3 separate regions of the Homo sapiens genome follow, and regions 1 and 3 are each linked to region 2. The links are contacts of gene promoters, found by promoter capture Hi-C in blood cells and fetal thymus (Javierre and others, 2016). All regions are on one chromosome and are shown on one strand. Each heading gives the region's core, a stretch centred on a gene start or on the middle of the fragment in contact. The rest is flanking DNA. Distances are from core to core; before and after follow the strand shown. Region 1 has its middle 12 kb from the start of CISH. Region 2 holds the start of RPL29 (ribosomal protein L29). Region 3 holds the start of RASSF1-AS1 (RASSF1 antisense RNA 1).

Evidence for each region. The method cuts DNA at HindIII sites, captures the fragments that hold promoters and counts their contacts. A CHiCAGO score of 5 or more calls a contact.
Region 1: a contact is called between a fragment that was not itself captured here and the fragment with the promoter of RPL29 in region 2, in 1 of 17 cell types (endothelial precursors). The highest score is 5.1, in endothelial precursors.
Region 3: a contact is called between a fragment that was not itself captured here and the fragment with the promoter of RPL29 in region 2, in 2 of 17 cell types (erythroblasts and M0 macrophages). The highest score is 8.1, in erythroblasts.

What each region holds. Positions count from the first base shown.
Region 1 is chr3:50,597,793-50,602,293 of GRCh38, reverse strand. No RefSeq gene overlaps it. Among named protein-coding and RNA genes, the nearest start is that of CISH, 12 kb to the left of the region's middle. RefSeq lists an enhancer at 1-3,247. The HindIII fragment of the contact is 4,209 bases long and covers 1-3,942 here.
Region 2 is chr3:51,994,553-51,998,802 of GRCh38, reverse strand. It overlaps RPL29 (ribosomal protein L29), which reads left to right and starts at 2,908. Exons shown (of 4, transcript NM_000992.3): 1 at 2,908-2,946; 2 at 3,334-3,378; 3 at 3,697-3,761. The coding sequence starts at 3,342. RefSeq lists an enhancer at 2,804-2,963. The HindIII fragment of the contact is 1,082 bases long and covers 2,847-3,928 here.
Region 3 is chr3:50,333,931-50,338,052 of GRCh38, reverse strand. It overlaps RASSF1 (Ras association domain family member 1), which reads left to right. Exons shown (of 6, transcript NM_007182.5): 2 at 42-148. It overlaps RASSF1-AS1 (RASSF1 antisense RNA 1), which reads right to left and starts at 542. Exons shown (of 1, transcript NR_109831.1): 1 at 1-542. RefSeq lists enhancers at 1-108, 1-507 and silencers at 579-758, 829-1,138. The HindIII fragment of the contact is 4,225 bases long and covers 1-3,408 here.

The DNA.
Region 1 (4,501 bases), core at 589-3,088, 1.4 Mb after region 2:
AGCCAGATGGGGCCCTTCCTGTCACCAGAGCTGGGCTCCTCCACCAGAGGTGGGGATTGCACTCATAGTCCAGACTGGGCCAAAGCTCTGTTCTTCAAAGTGCCTCTCAGCCCTCAGCCTCCTCCCAGGAAGCACTTCACTGCTCCCACCCCCACCAGCCCCACATCAGTGACATCACTTGTGTGTGTGTGTGTGTGTGTGTGTGTGTGTGTGTGTGTGTGTGTGTGTGTGTGTGTGTGCGCGCGCACGCGCGCACGCATGCTTGTGCTGACCTTTCCACTTGGCCAACATTCCTTTGTTTTTCTCAGCTCCTTCCAGTGGATGGCTGTGGGAGGAGGAGCTGCTGGGAGAGTAGGTTCTCAGGAAACATTTCCCCCAAAGCCCCAGGGACACGGAGCCCACGAGACATGAGAAAATGAGGCTTAACCAGGAGGAGAGGTGTTCCAAGGGCAGTTTGAGGGGTGTGGGTGAGAGAAAAGGAGAGATCCTGGCAGAGATCACTGTTAACCCAGGTGTGTGCATGCCTGCGGGGGCGTGCTCCCGGGCATCCTTGCCAGATCAGCACCATCAGCCTGGCACCTAGTGGGCAAGCTGAGCTTATAAGGGCAGGCAAAGCTGGGTGGCCCTAGGAAGTTGCTGCATCTCGCCAGGACATATATGGCTCAAAGTAGGCCAGGGTCCTGGGTTTGCTGTTGTGGGATCAATTCACTTTCTCTCCTACCCAGAGGTGCCTGGTTGGGAGCTGTGGGCTTTGGGGGCAGGAGCACCTCCTCCCAGCACCTTGACAATCACCCCCTTTCTCTTCTGGGTCTCAGTGAGTAACTAGGGTGGGTGCTAGCTTCCAGAGGATCCCTGGGCCTTGTGTAGGGCAGAGAAGGCCTGGCGTGGGCACCCCCCACCCCCAGCCTGGGTGAGGTGTTTTCGCCAGAATTGCAGCAGCTGGGGCTGGAGGCCTCTTCCCAGGAAGAGCAGAGCGCCGCTTCCAAGAACTCAGAGGAGGCCGCAGGCGGGAGGGGGAGCGGGGGAGTTAATTTTAAACCACACTGCCTTCAACGCTTCTCAGGAACTGGTTGCTCAACGTGATCTGGCAGGTCCCAGGCGGCTGGGCAGGCCTGGTGCCAGCTCAGAAGTGGCGGGTGGAGGACACGCCCCAGGGGGAGGCCTGGTGACCTTGAGGGAAGTAGGGCCCTGTCCTTGACCACTTACCAGGGCCTGTCCCTCATTCACCCGACCCAACTTTGCTGGGGGGTGTGAGGTGGGGTAATTTATTCAGTTCTAACCAGGAAAGGTAAAATTATAACAGGATTAATAACACAAGTGTCATGGCCTTCCAAGGGCCCCAAGACGATCCCATCCCCCTTCCCTGCTCAGAACCTGCCTGTCCTGCACCCTGGCCTGTCCTCTGGAGGTTATCTGATGAGGGCCTATTCTGAGGGTAAGGCCTGTGCTGATTCTCTATGGGATGGGACCCTGGTGCCAGGCTAGTGGGGGGAGTAGAGTCGGGGGGTGGAGGGTGGCATGTGGCAAGCTGGTGGAAGTTCTGGACCAAGGGAATGAGCCTCCTTCTTGTGCAGGGAGAACTCATGGGCCCGCACCCCATGGTTGACTGCAGTCAAAGCACCTGCATTTCACCGACCTCCTGTTGGAGGTGTTGACCACCCTAGTGTGGCCAACCACTCCCGGCTGACAGCCTAGGCCCACCTCCCAATGTTTGGTCCATGGAATGTTCTACCTGCAGAGGCACCTCCCAGTGCACCCCCTTCCCCCACTACCCCCACTGGCTGCCCTCTGAGACCCCAGCAGTCTGGGCAGAGCAGGTCTCAAGTTCTAGGAAAGGATCCTAAGCAAATGCTGCCAAGAGCTGCAGTTCTTGGAACCAGCACTGCAGGGCGAGGGGACACTTCCTGGAACCTGCTGGCCCTTCCAGGGAGTGAGGCTCAGAGGACAGCCAGTGACCTGGGGTAAGTGGGGGGAGAGGGTACTGAGCCCTTAGCTTCGGTCTCTGCCTCCAGGAAGCCCTCCCTGACTGCAGGTGCCTCCTTAGACTCCTCCATCCCGGTGCTGGATCTGGCATGACCTCTGAAGTGCCCGGTGTCCAGCCTGGCAGAGTGGACGACGAGAAACAGGTGTTAGTAGAGAAAAAAAGGGCATGTGTACCTATGGAGGCAGCGTGTGGGTGTGGGTCCACAGTGAAAGCAGGAGGTTAGACAGGAGTGTCCTGCCTAGGCCAGTGAGCAGCCGGGGGTGTGAAGCACCAAGGGAGAGTAGGAGGGAAAACAAGGTGGGGTCAGCAGTGCCAGGCCCTGCTCACTGAGCCCCCTTTGCTGGTGGGCAGCCTCTGGCTCTAGTCACTCCTTCAGGACAGCCTTGTCTCACCCACACTTCCCTGTCCCACAGCAGGGGGCCCAGGCCCCAGCTTCAGCATCAAGCCACCCAGGACATGCATCTGGCCTTTTGGAAAATAGCCTGGAGAATGCAGAGGAGAGGCTGCAGTGAGTGGGCACTGACAACTGTCTGGGACTGGGTTGAAGTCTGGCCACATTTCAAGGGAATGGCCATGAGTGTTCCCATCACAGGATCCCAGGAGCAGCATTGTTAGAGCAGGGGCCTGGAAGTATGGCTGAGGGTGCTGAGTGAGCAGGTCAGGGTCACATAGCTGGGAGGCACTAGGACAACCTTTTAACCACTCATGACCCCTTTACCTTCAGAATGGAGAACCTCCCCTGGCCAAGGCTGGACGGGGTGTCGGCAAGAACTTGCCTCTCTCCTCCCACCCTCAGGTCACTCCTTGGCCCTCACTGAGCACAGCGCCAAGCGTGCTACCCATCCACCCCAATGTCACAGAGAAGATGGGGACAATGCTGGCGTTAAGAAGGGCTAGGACCCAGTGGGTGGGTGGCAGCTGTGAGGTGGGGCTATGGCAGAGAGGTCCTCCCTCCCCTGTAGGAGGGCAGTGGGGCAGCCCAAGGACACAGGTCATTGCTGTGCTTGTACTCTGCAGTGGCCAGTTCTCAGAAGCTACCTGGGGCAGCTGGCAGTGGGTGGGAGTGCTGCATTCTCTGTCACTTAGAGGCCTTGATGCCTGCACCCAGGTCAGGCTGGCTGTGGCTGGAAAGAACCTGCTGTGGATGAAGTTGACCTGGGACCCACGTGACCTGAGTGAAAAGAGCTATGGGTTTGCAGGGGACACCGGTGCCCTGCTGCAGGTGGTTCTAGAGCTAGGTATCCTGCATCGTGACTTGAGCAAGTCATGAACCCACTCTGAGCCTCAGTTTCCCACTCTGTTTTTGGTGTTTGGTTTGGTTTGGTTTTGAGACAGGGTCTCACCCTGTTGCCCAGGCTGGAGTCCAGTGGCACAATCTCGGCTCACTGCAGCCTCTACCTCCTGAGCTCAAGCGATCCTCCCACCTCAGTCTCCCAAGTAGCTGAGACTACAGGTGTGTGCCACCACACCCCACTAATTTTTTGTACAGATCTAGTTTCACCATGTTGCCCAGGCTGGTCTGAACTCCTGGGCTCAAGCAATTCTCCTCCCTCGGCCTCCCAAAGCACTGGGATTACAGGCGTGAGCCACTGCACCGGGCCTCCACCTCTACTTTGGGGACAATGTTATCACTTGCCTTATGGAATCGTTGTAAGGAGGAAATGTGTAGACTTGGTGATTTTTGTTTCTCCTCGGAGTCTTCCCCTGGATCCCAACTCACCCCTCCAGCTCCCACTTCACCATGAGCCCATGGAGACATGAGCCCCAGAAGAGCTCTTTCTCTGGTCTCTATTGCAGCAAGAAGTACCTGTGGGCACACTGGAGCATAGGCCTTGATGTTTGCAGTGCTCCAGGCAAAAGGACAAGTGGAGGCTCACATACCAGAATCTAAATATTAAACAACCATAAATCAAGCTGCTAATGAAATGTGTTCTATCCTCCTACTGAACAAATAAGCTTTCATAGGAGTAAAAACATCTGTAAATCTACAGTTTTTATATATCTGAAAGTCAGCAGATATCCAAAATGATGAAACTTAGTAATTATCACTCATGTCCAGGTGTTCAGTGACCTGAGGTTTAAGTGAGAGAATGAAGACTTGCCTGATGCCTAAGATATTCTGTATTTATTCTGTAACATTGATTCTCCTCGTCTTTAGTCTAGTAAAATGATTGATTATGTTGTTACAGTCAAGACTTCTACACTATTACTGTTCTTTTCATAGTAATGATTAAAAAGATTAAAATAAGGCTGGGCATGGTGGCTCACACATGTAATCCCAGAGCTTTGAGAAACCAAAGTGACAGGATTGCTTGAGGCAGGAGTTCAAGTTTACAGTAAGCTATGACTATACTACTGTACTCCAGACTGGGCAACAGAGCAAGACCCTGTCTATAAAAAAAATAATAATTTTTAAAAAGACTAAAATAAAATATTGGCCAGGTGTGGTGGCTCACACCTGTAATCCCAGCACTTTGGGAGGCCAAGGCAGGTGGATCACCTGAGGTCAGGAGTTCA
Region 2 (4,250 bases), core at 1,659-4,158:
GCCTGTAATCCCAGCACTTTGGGAGGCCAAGGAGTGTGGATCACCTGAGGTCAGGAGTTCGAGACCAGCATTGCCAACATGGTAGAACCCCGTCTCTACTAAAAACACAAAAATTAGCTGGGCATGGTGGCAGGTGCCTGTAATCCCAGCTACTCGGGAGGCTGAGGCAATAGAATCGTTTGAACCCAGGAGGTGGAGGTTGCAGTGAGCCAACATCGCGCCATTGCACTCCAGCCTGGGCAATGAGAGCAAAACTCTGTCTCAAAATAAATAAATAAATAAATAAAATAAATAAAAGTAAATAAATAAAGTCATCACTGCCCCCGCTGTCAGCCTCTACCCTGCTGGCTTCTCTTTCTCAAGGATGTGGCAGTCAGACCTCCTCCTCCCTGTCCCAGTCTCCACAGCCACCTCTTCAACTTCCTGAGCTGAAGTCCTGACTTGCTGTCAGGCATCACACCACCCCCACCTCCTGTAGCCCCTGTCTTTGCCCACCAGGTTCTCTACCTGTGCTCAGCACCCCACAGGGACTTTATTCCTGCAGAGACACTCTCCTCTGGGCTCAGCTGTTTCTTTCTTGGCACCAGATCATCCATCAGTATATAAGCCTGCTTTTCATTCTCCCAACTCACACCTGTCAGAATTCTCTCCCCTTTCTCAGGAATGCTTTGGTAATGAGTCATCCACATGTCCTGCCTCCACAACCTCCTTTCCGCTTCACTCCCTAAACCTCTGCAGTATGCGTCTGTCACTCCACGAACCTGGCTTGTCAAGGAACGTTCACTGGGCATGTGTTTATTAAGCTCTTGCTCTATCTACATTATGCTGAGTTAGGCAGTGGGAAAATGAAGGTGATCAAACCAGTCCCAAACTCTGGGCTCCTATGATAATGGACACATACACAACTAAGTAAACAATGCAATTAGAGTCTGGGAAAGTTCTATAAAGAAAGCAAACCATGGCCGGGCACGGTGGCTTACGCCTGTAATCCCAGCACTTTGGGAGGCCGAGGCGGGCAGACCACCTGAGGTCAGGAGTTCAACACCAGCCTGGCCAACATGGTGAAAACCCGTCTCTACTAAAAATAATTCTTTAAAAATTAGCTGGGAGTGGTGGTGTGCGCCCGTAATCCCAGCTACTCAGGAGGCTGAGGCAGGAGAATCGCTTGAACCCGGGAGGCAGAGGTTGCAGTGAGCTGAGATCGCACCACTGCACTCCAGCCTGGGAGACAGAGTGAGACTGTCTAAAAAAAAGAAAAAAAAAAAAAGAATAGAAAAGAAAGGAAACCATGAGAGGACACAGAATCACTGGTGAGATGAGGCAGTGGTTCTCTATTTTAGATAATGGAGTCCAGGGAGGCCTCTATAGGAAAGAGCACACCATCCAAAAAGCAGGGAGAAGGGCAGTCCAGGTGGCTGGGATAGCAAGTGCAAAGGTCCTGAGGCAGAACACACATTTGTGGTTGGCAGGAAAGAAAGGCAATGCGTTTGGAGAGAAGTAAATGACAGAGGTTGTCAGGGTCAAGTGGGTAAAGAATTGATCTTCAATGCAAGGGGATGTCCTTGCAGATTTAAGGGACAGGATCTGATTTGTATCTTAAAACAAGTCCCCAAGCCCCACTGCCGTGTGGAAAATGAACTATAGGGGGAAGAGGTGGAGAAGGCAACAGAGTTGTTAGAGGCAACAATTTCTCAATTCTGATGTCCAACAGGCATCTCACATTTAATGCATCCAACAAAAATATCTGGCTCATCATTCCCCCTCAAAACAAAACAAACAAAGCCCCTGCTCCCCACTCAATCTTCCATCTCTGTAAACAGCCCACCATTCACCCAGTTGTCAAGCCAAAGACATAGGGGCTATCCTTGCCTCCTTTTTCTCCCTCATCTTCTGTGTCCCAAGTCCAGTACTCTTTCTTTGTCCACTCCTCTGCATTCCCACTGTCCTCCCTCAGGTCCAGGCAGCCCTCTCTCCTTCCTCCCCTCTGCTCCTTCTCCACGAAAGAGTCAGGCGTGCTTTTCTTTTTTTTTTTTGAGACAGAGTCTCGCCCTGTAGCCCAGGCTGGAGTGCAATGGTGCGATCTTGGCTCACTGCAACCTCCACCTCCCAGATTCAAGCAATTCTCCTGCCTCAGCCTCCAGAGTAGCTGGGATTACAGGCACGTGCCACCACGCCCCGTGAATTTTTTTTTTTTTTTTTTTTTTTTTTTTGGATTTTTAGTAGAGATGGGGTTTCACCATGTTGTCCAGGCTGGTCTGGAACTCCTGACCTCGTGATCCGCCCACCTCAGCCTCCCAAAGTGCTGGGATTACAGGGGTGCTTTTAAGAACACAGATCGGCCAGGTGCGGTGGCTCACGCCTGTAATCCCAGCACTTTGGGGGACAGAGGCGAGCGGATCGCGAGGTCAGGAGTTCGAGACCAGCCTGGCCAACATGGTGAAACCCCGTCTCTACTAAAAATGTAAAAATTAGCCGGGCGTGGTGGTGGGCGCCTGTAATCCCAGCTACTCGGGAGGCTGAGGCAAGAGAATCGCTTGAAACCGGAAGGCGGAGGTTGCAGTGGGCCGAGATTGTGCCACTGCCCTCCAGCCTCGGTGGAAGAGCGAAACTCCGTCTCAAAAAAAAAAAAAAAGAAAAAGAACACAGATCTTCTTGCCCAACAACATCCCTCAAGGACTCCTTTCTTTTTCAGTATCTTGAATAAGACTTAAGAGACAGGTCCTGGAGAAACAGAGAAGGGAGGAGGCAGCCTGAAGGGGGCGGAGGCAAGCTCGTAGCACCGCCTCCACGTCTGGCTTGCGTTCTTCCGGGCTTCGGAACTTTTCTTCGCGGAGCCTGGGGAAGCTTTTCCAGTAGTACTTTCCGGCGTTGTTGACCCTATTTCCCGTGCTGCACCGCAGCCCCTTTCTCTTCCGGTTCTAGGCGCTTCGGGAGCCGCGGCTTATGGTGAGTGTTGGCCGCGCGGCATCCGATGCCATCCGCGACTTACGGGTGGCGGCGGGGCGCGGGCTGCGGAGAGGACTGGTGACCGACCGTGTGTCTGTCGGGAGCAAAAGCTGCGGGGTGGGAATGGTGCTTCTAGGTCCTAGGAGGGGGATGGCAGGGAAAGCCACTTTATTGGGGAATGCAGCTTTCCGGGGGTAAGGAGTTGATTTCAGGGCATCATTACCTGGGTTTGGGAGGCCAGGACTGGCGTTTGGTCGTGCAGAGTAAGCCGAGACTCGTGGAGGCTGCACATTCTCTGCCTGCAGGCTCATTCTGACCAGAATGGGGGGGGCAGAGGTGGCCCAGCCTGGCGAGCCCTTAACCCTGATCTCCACTTTTGTCTTCCAGGTGCAGACATGGCCAAGTCCAAGAACCACACCACACACAACCAGTGTAAGTTTTTTGGGCCCTGCCTACATCCCAGACCCTGGCAAGGACTGGTTCAGGCAAACTGGGACAGAGATGAAGGGGCACGTTTCCATTGTGGGCCTGAGGCTGATTGATTTCACCCAGTAATAACTTTAGGGTTTATAGGTTTAGAGATCTACTTGAGATACAGAGTGTTTTGCATTTAGTAGTAAGGGTTTCCCATATCTCAAGTGTAGCTGCTGTAGGAAGTGTTGGTTCTCCCAGACTTGCCAGCTGTGATGTTGGGTGGTCTTATTAGAGGAAAGTTCTTTGTTGGCTTAATTCCCTTTTTTTCTCCCACAGCCCGAAAATGGCACAGAAATGGTATCAAGAAACCCCGATCACAAAGATACGAATCTCTTAAGGGGGTGAGTGCACTGAATCACATGGAAGTGTCTTTTCTTGGTTCCAGGTGCACAGTCAAGGCCTCTCATGTAGTTTTTCTCTAGCTTTGGCTTCTGCCTGAGCACAGCCTAACTGGCCCACCCAAAGCCTGCAATTCCTTTTTCTACCCTACCAGACCCATAATAAAGCTTTCCTTGGTCTCCACAGCCTGAAGTGTAACCCTCTGGTCAGGGTGTAACCTGCCTCCTGAGGGCAGTTTGGCTATCTCCCTTGCTTGGCAGTGGCACTTAGGGTAAGGAGTGGCCTTGTCTGAGTGCGTGCAGGGCACATTCCCACACTGACCAGCCTTATGACCTCCATCTGACCCAGTGCTGGAGTTGGGGTCAGCTTCTCTTCCTGTGTCAGGGGGTTCTAAGGATTAGCTGAGAAGGCTGGAGGGTCTAGGGGAGAGCTGAGCATGTCCCCAGTCTGTTCCTTCCCTTTACTTTTGCTCTCTGTTCCGTGGAGTGAAT
Region 3 (4,122 bases), core at 47-2,546, 1.7 Mb after region 2:
GACCTGGAGCTCCTCCGCCTCACCGCCAGGCCTCTCTGCAGATTGCAAGTTCACCTGCCACTACCGCTGCCGCGCGCTCGTCTGCCTGGACTGTTGCGGGCCCCGGGACCTGGGCTGGGAACCCGCGGTGGAGCGGGACACGAACGTGGTGAGCGCGGGGCCGAGGGCGTATGGGAAGGGCGAGGATGGGCAGGCCACAGTGCAGGCATTCTCGAGGGCTGCCTGGGTGCCGCGCGCAAGGAGCGTTCTAATTGCCGATTTCCCGGCGGCACAGAGAGGCTAATTCTGCGCGGGGGCTGGGAGGGGAGCCTGGATTGCCGGCTCCGCAAGTACTCCACCCGCTGCAAGCGGACCCGGGCCCAGGCTGACCCAGGCTCCGCGCACGCGCACTTCCCGCACCTTCCCGCCCTCGCCTCCGGCCAGAGGCCACTCTTGTGCGCTTGCCCGGACGCTGGCACCCGCCCCCGTTCCCTGTGGTAGGTGGGGTCTGTGAGTGGAGCTCCGGAGCGATGAGGTCATTCCTGGGGGCGAAGCGTGCGTGTCCCCGCCCCGGCGTTCCTGCCCCAATGAGACAAGAGCTAGATCCCGGCGATCTACGTTTCAGTCTTAACGGTTGCGGCGCGGCTCTGGCCCGGGCGCACGCGCACACTGACACGCGTACACGCACGCACGCGACCGGGGCGGTGGTTGGCGGCTACGGACGCGCAGGACTGGGGGACGGGCGGGTACGGCTATGGGCGAGGCGGAGGCGCCTTCTTTCGAAATGACCTGGAGCAGCACGACGAGCAGTGGCTACTGCAGCCAAGAGGACTCGGACTCGGAGCTCGAGCAGTACTTCACCGCGCGAACCTCGCTAGCTCGCAGGCCGCGCCGGGACCAGGTGGGAGCCAGGGGGTGCCGGCGGGCGGGAGGGGAAGCGGTCGCTGGAGCTCCGCCCTCCCCGGTCCGTTGCCGCGTCCTGGGTCGGTGGGCAGCCCCACCCTCCTGGCTACGTGGCTCCCCGCGGGTCCTGGCCGGGGACCTGCCCGCGGAACCGTGCGTAAGACCCCGATTCCACCGCCTAGATGCTGGGTGCCGGGGCCCCCTTGGTTTCTGTCACAGACAGGTTGAACACGGAAAAAGCAGCTGTATGGCTTGTGGTAGACCTGAGCCGGGCATTATCCAGCTATGACTAAAGCCGACCGAGCAGTTTGGACTAGCACCTCGATTTCCGCGTTCGAATGCTCCTGCTCCCTCCTTGGGGAGACTAGGGGAGGATGTGGAGAGGGAAGAGTCCTCGCCAGGAATTGAGAAGTATGTTTAGGAAAACTTGAGAGGCAGAGAGAGATCCTGCTCCTCCATCTGCACTCCTGTATGGAGCCAGCTGAGCCCTCACCTCTTCCCTGTTCTGGCCTGTCACCAGCTGCTGGAATGTGGAAGATTCTGTTCCCTTCCTCTAGGGTGGATCTGGAGAAAGATTTGGGAATAGATAGGAAAGAAGTCTTGTTTTGGACCATAAGCATTCAGGAGCACTTTACCCACAGGAAGGGGGAAAGCTAGATTATAAAATGCCTAAAGAGGTGGAAAAAGAGATCCAGGTTACTAACCCAGGACTGTAAGGTGTCTCGGAACCTCCTAGGTATCCCCATTATCGGAGAACTGTGTGCCAGATGCCATTGGTGTGACCACCAGGCTCAGAGAACCAGGCCTAGGCACCAGGAAAAAGAAACAGGGACTGTGAAGCTCAGTATGCCTGGCAGAAATGGGGCGGAAATCCTTATTTAAGTAAAGAAAGTGGAGTTGTGAGTGATGCTTCAGATAAAATTTTACAAAATTCCTTACAAAATGGGTGGTGCTCAGCACGCCAAAATCTTAGCCCAGAGCTTGGGTGCAAGGGTTGAGTTGAGTGTAGACCCCTGGGCTTGTCTTCATGTCAGTCAGTCCTGAGCCATTTTCCACTGTGGAAAGGTGGGAAAACCACAAGACACTAACCAATTGAAAAGGAGGGCTAGCCACGGAGGTGCACACCTGTAATCCCAGCTACTTGGGAGGGTGAGGCAGAAGGATCACTTGAACCTGGGAGGCAGAGGTTGCAGTGAGCCAAGATCGTGCCACTGCACTCCAGCCTGAGTGACAGAGTGAGACTCTGTCTCAAAAATAGAAAAGGAAGCCAAGTACGGTGGCTCACACCTCTAATGCCAATGCTTTGGGAGGCCAAGGCAGGTGGATCATTTGCAATCAGGAATTCGAGGTCAGCCTGGCCAACATGGTGAAACCCTATCTCTACTAAACATACAAAAATTAGCCGGGCATGGTGGTGTGTGACTGTAGTCCCAGCTACTTGGGAGACTGAATCACTTCAACCGGGAGGCAAAGGTTGCAGTGAGCCAAGATCGTGCCACTGCACTCCAACCTGGGTGACAGGGTGAGGCTCTGTCTCAAAAAAAAGAAAGAAGGCTGGGCTTGGTGACTCATGCCTGTAATCTCAGCATTTTGGGAGGCCAAGGCAGGCAGATCACTTGAGGCCAAGAGTTCGAGACCTGCCAGGCCAACATAGCAAAACCCCGTCTGTACTGAAAATACAAAAAAATTATCTGGCCATGGTGGTGTGTGCCTGTAATCCCAGCTACTGGGGAGGCTGAGGCAGGAGTATCACTTGAACCCAGAAGACAGAGGTTGCAGTGAGTCGAGACTGGGCCACTGCATTCCAGCCTGGATGAGAGAGCAAGACTCTGTCTCAAAAAAAAAAAAAAAAAAAAAGAAAGAATAGGAGGCTGAGAAGTCCCAAGTTATATGTTAAAAAAAAAGAAAAAAACATCAGTTTTAGGCCAGGTGCAGTGGCTCACACCTTTAATCCCAGCACTTTGGAAAGCCGAGGTGGGTGGATCATGAGGTCAGGAGTTCAAGACCAGCCTGGCCAAAATGGTGAAACCCCGTCTCGACTAAAAATACAAAAAATTAGCCAGTTGTGGTGGCAGGCACCTGTAATCCCAGCTACTTGGGAGGCTGAAGCAGAGAATTGCTTGAACCCAGGAGGCAGAGATTGCAATGAGCCAAGATCGCACCACTGCACTCCAGCCTGGAAAACAGAGCGAGACTCTGTCTCAAAAAAAAAACCATCAGTTTTTATGGACAGTGGTAGAGTGGAGGGTGGGTCCCTATGGTGCAGAAGGGAAATTCCATGGTCCTGCTGTGCATCCGACTGGGATGGCTGTTGAAATCCTCTTCCAGCAGGCAGCTTTGGAAACAGAAAAAGAAACTCTTCCTCCTTTAGAATCCTGGAAGGGCTGTGCAGTGCCTCTAATCCAAGTCTGTTTTCTGAGTGAAGATAGGGAGGTTCATCACCAGAAGGGAAGGGGCTGGAAATGAGGTCACTGCATCCCAGCCCAGGGCTCCTGGGTCATCCAGGAAGGGAAGAAGGAGCAAGCTTTCTCATTGTTAGGTAGGAGCTCAGAGCCATCACAAGAACAAGTTAGCACCATCCCTGTGCCCTCCCTGTTCTGCAAACAAAATGATCTTCCTTCTTGCCCTGGCACTAGAGTCTGTCTGGCATTTCTCCTGCCCCTAGTACTCCTCCCATCTGGGTACTTCTTCCCGTTGGTGTACTGAACAAACACATCCACTGCTTTATTCACAGCCTCCAGCCCTCATTTTCCAGGGCCCACACCATTTGTTTTTACTAACCCGACAAGGTTGCCCACTGTCCCCAGTAAGGTTTGTACTGGGGTTTTTACTCCAGTGCTCTTCTCCATCCAGGAGACCTTTGGATACTTGGGGAAGAAAATGAGCTTAAATTCCCACCCCTCCCCCTTTACCTTTTTCCTGTAAGGCCCTGGCCTTAGTTCTTAGCCCCACATCCTTGCTGGCTGCAGAATAGCAGCGGGTTCTGGGTAAGGAGCATTCTGCTAAAACGCTCCACCCTGCTCCCTCATCTGTCCTCTCCATTTGTCCCCATCAGATGGTTTAAGTGCTTAAGGGGACTCCAGGGCGGAGTCAGGGAGAACCCTGGCTCTCCTGGGCTAGGCACAAGATCATTCTACAGGAAACCTTGTGGGAATTCTTCTGGGACAAAGTATTGGTCAGCGCTGAGCTTAGCTGTGTCTGTGACACTCGCATTCTAACTAGGGCCTATCTGACGTCAAC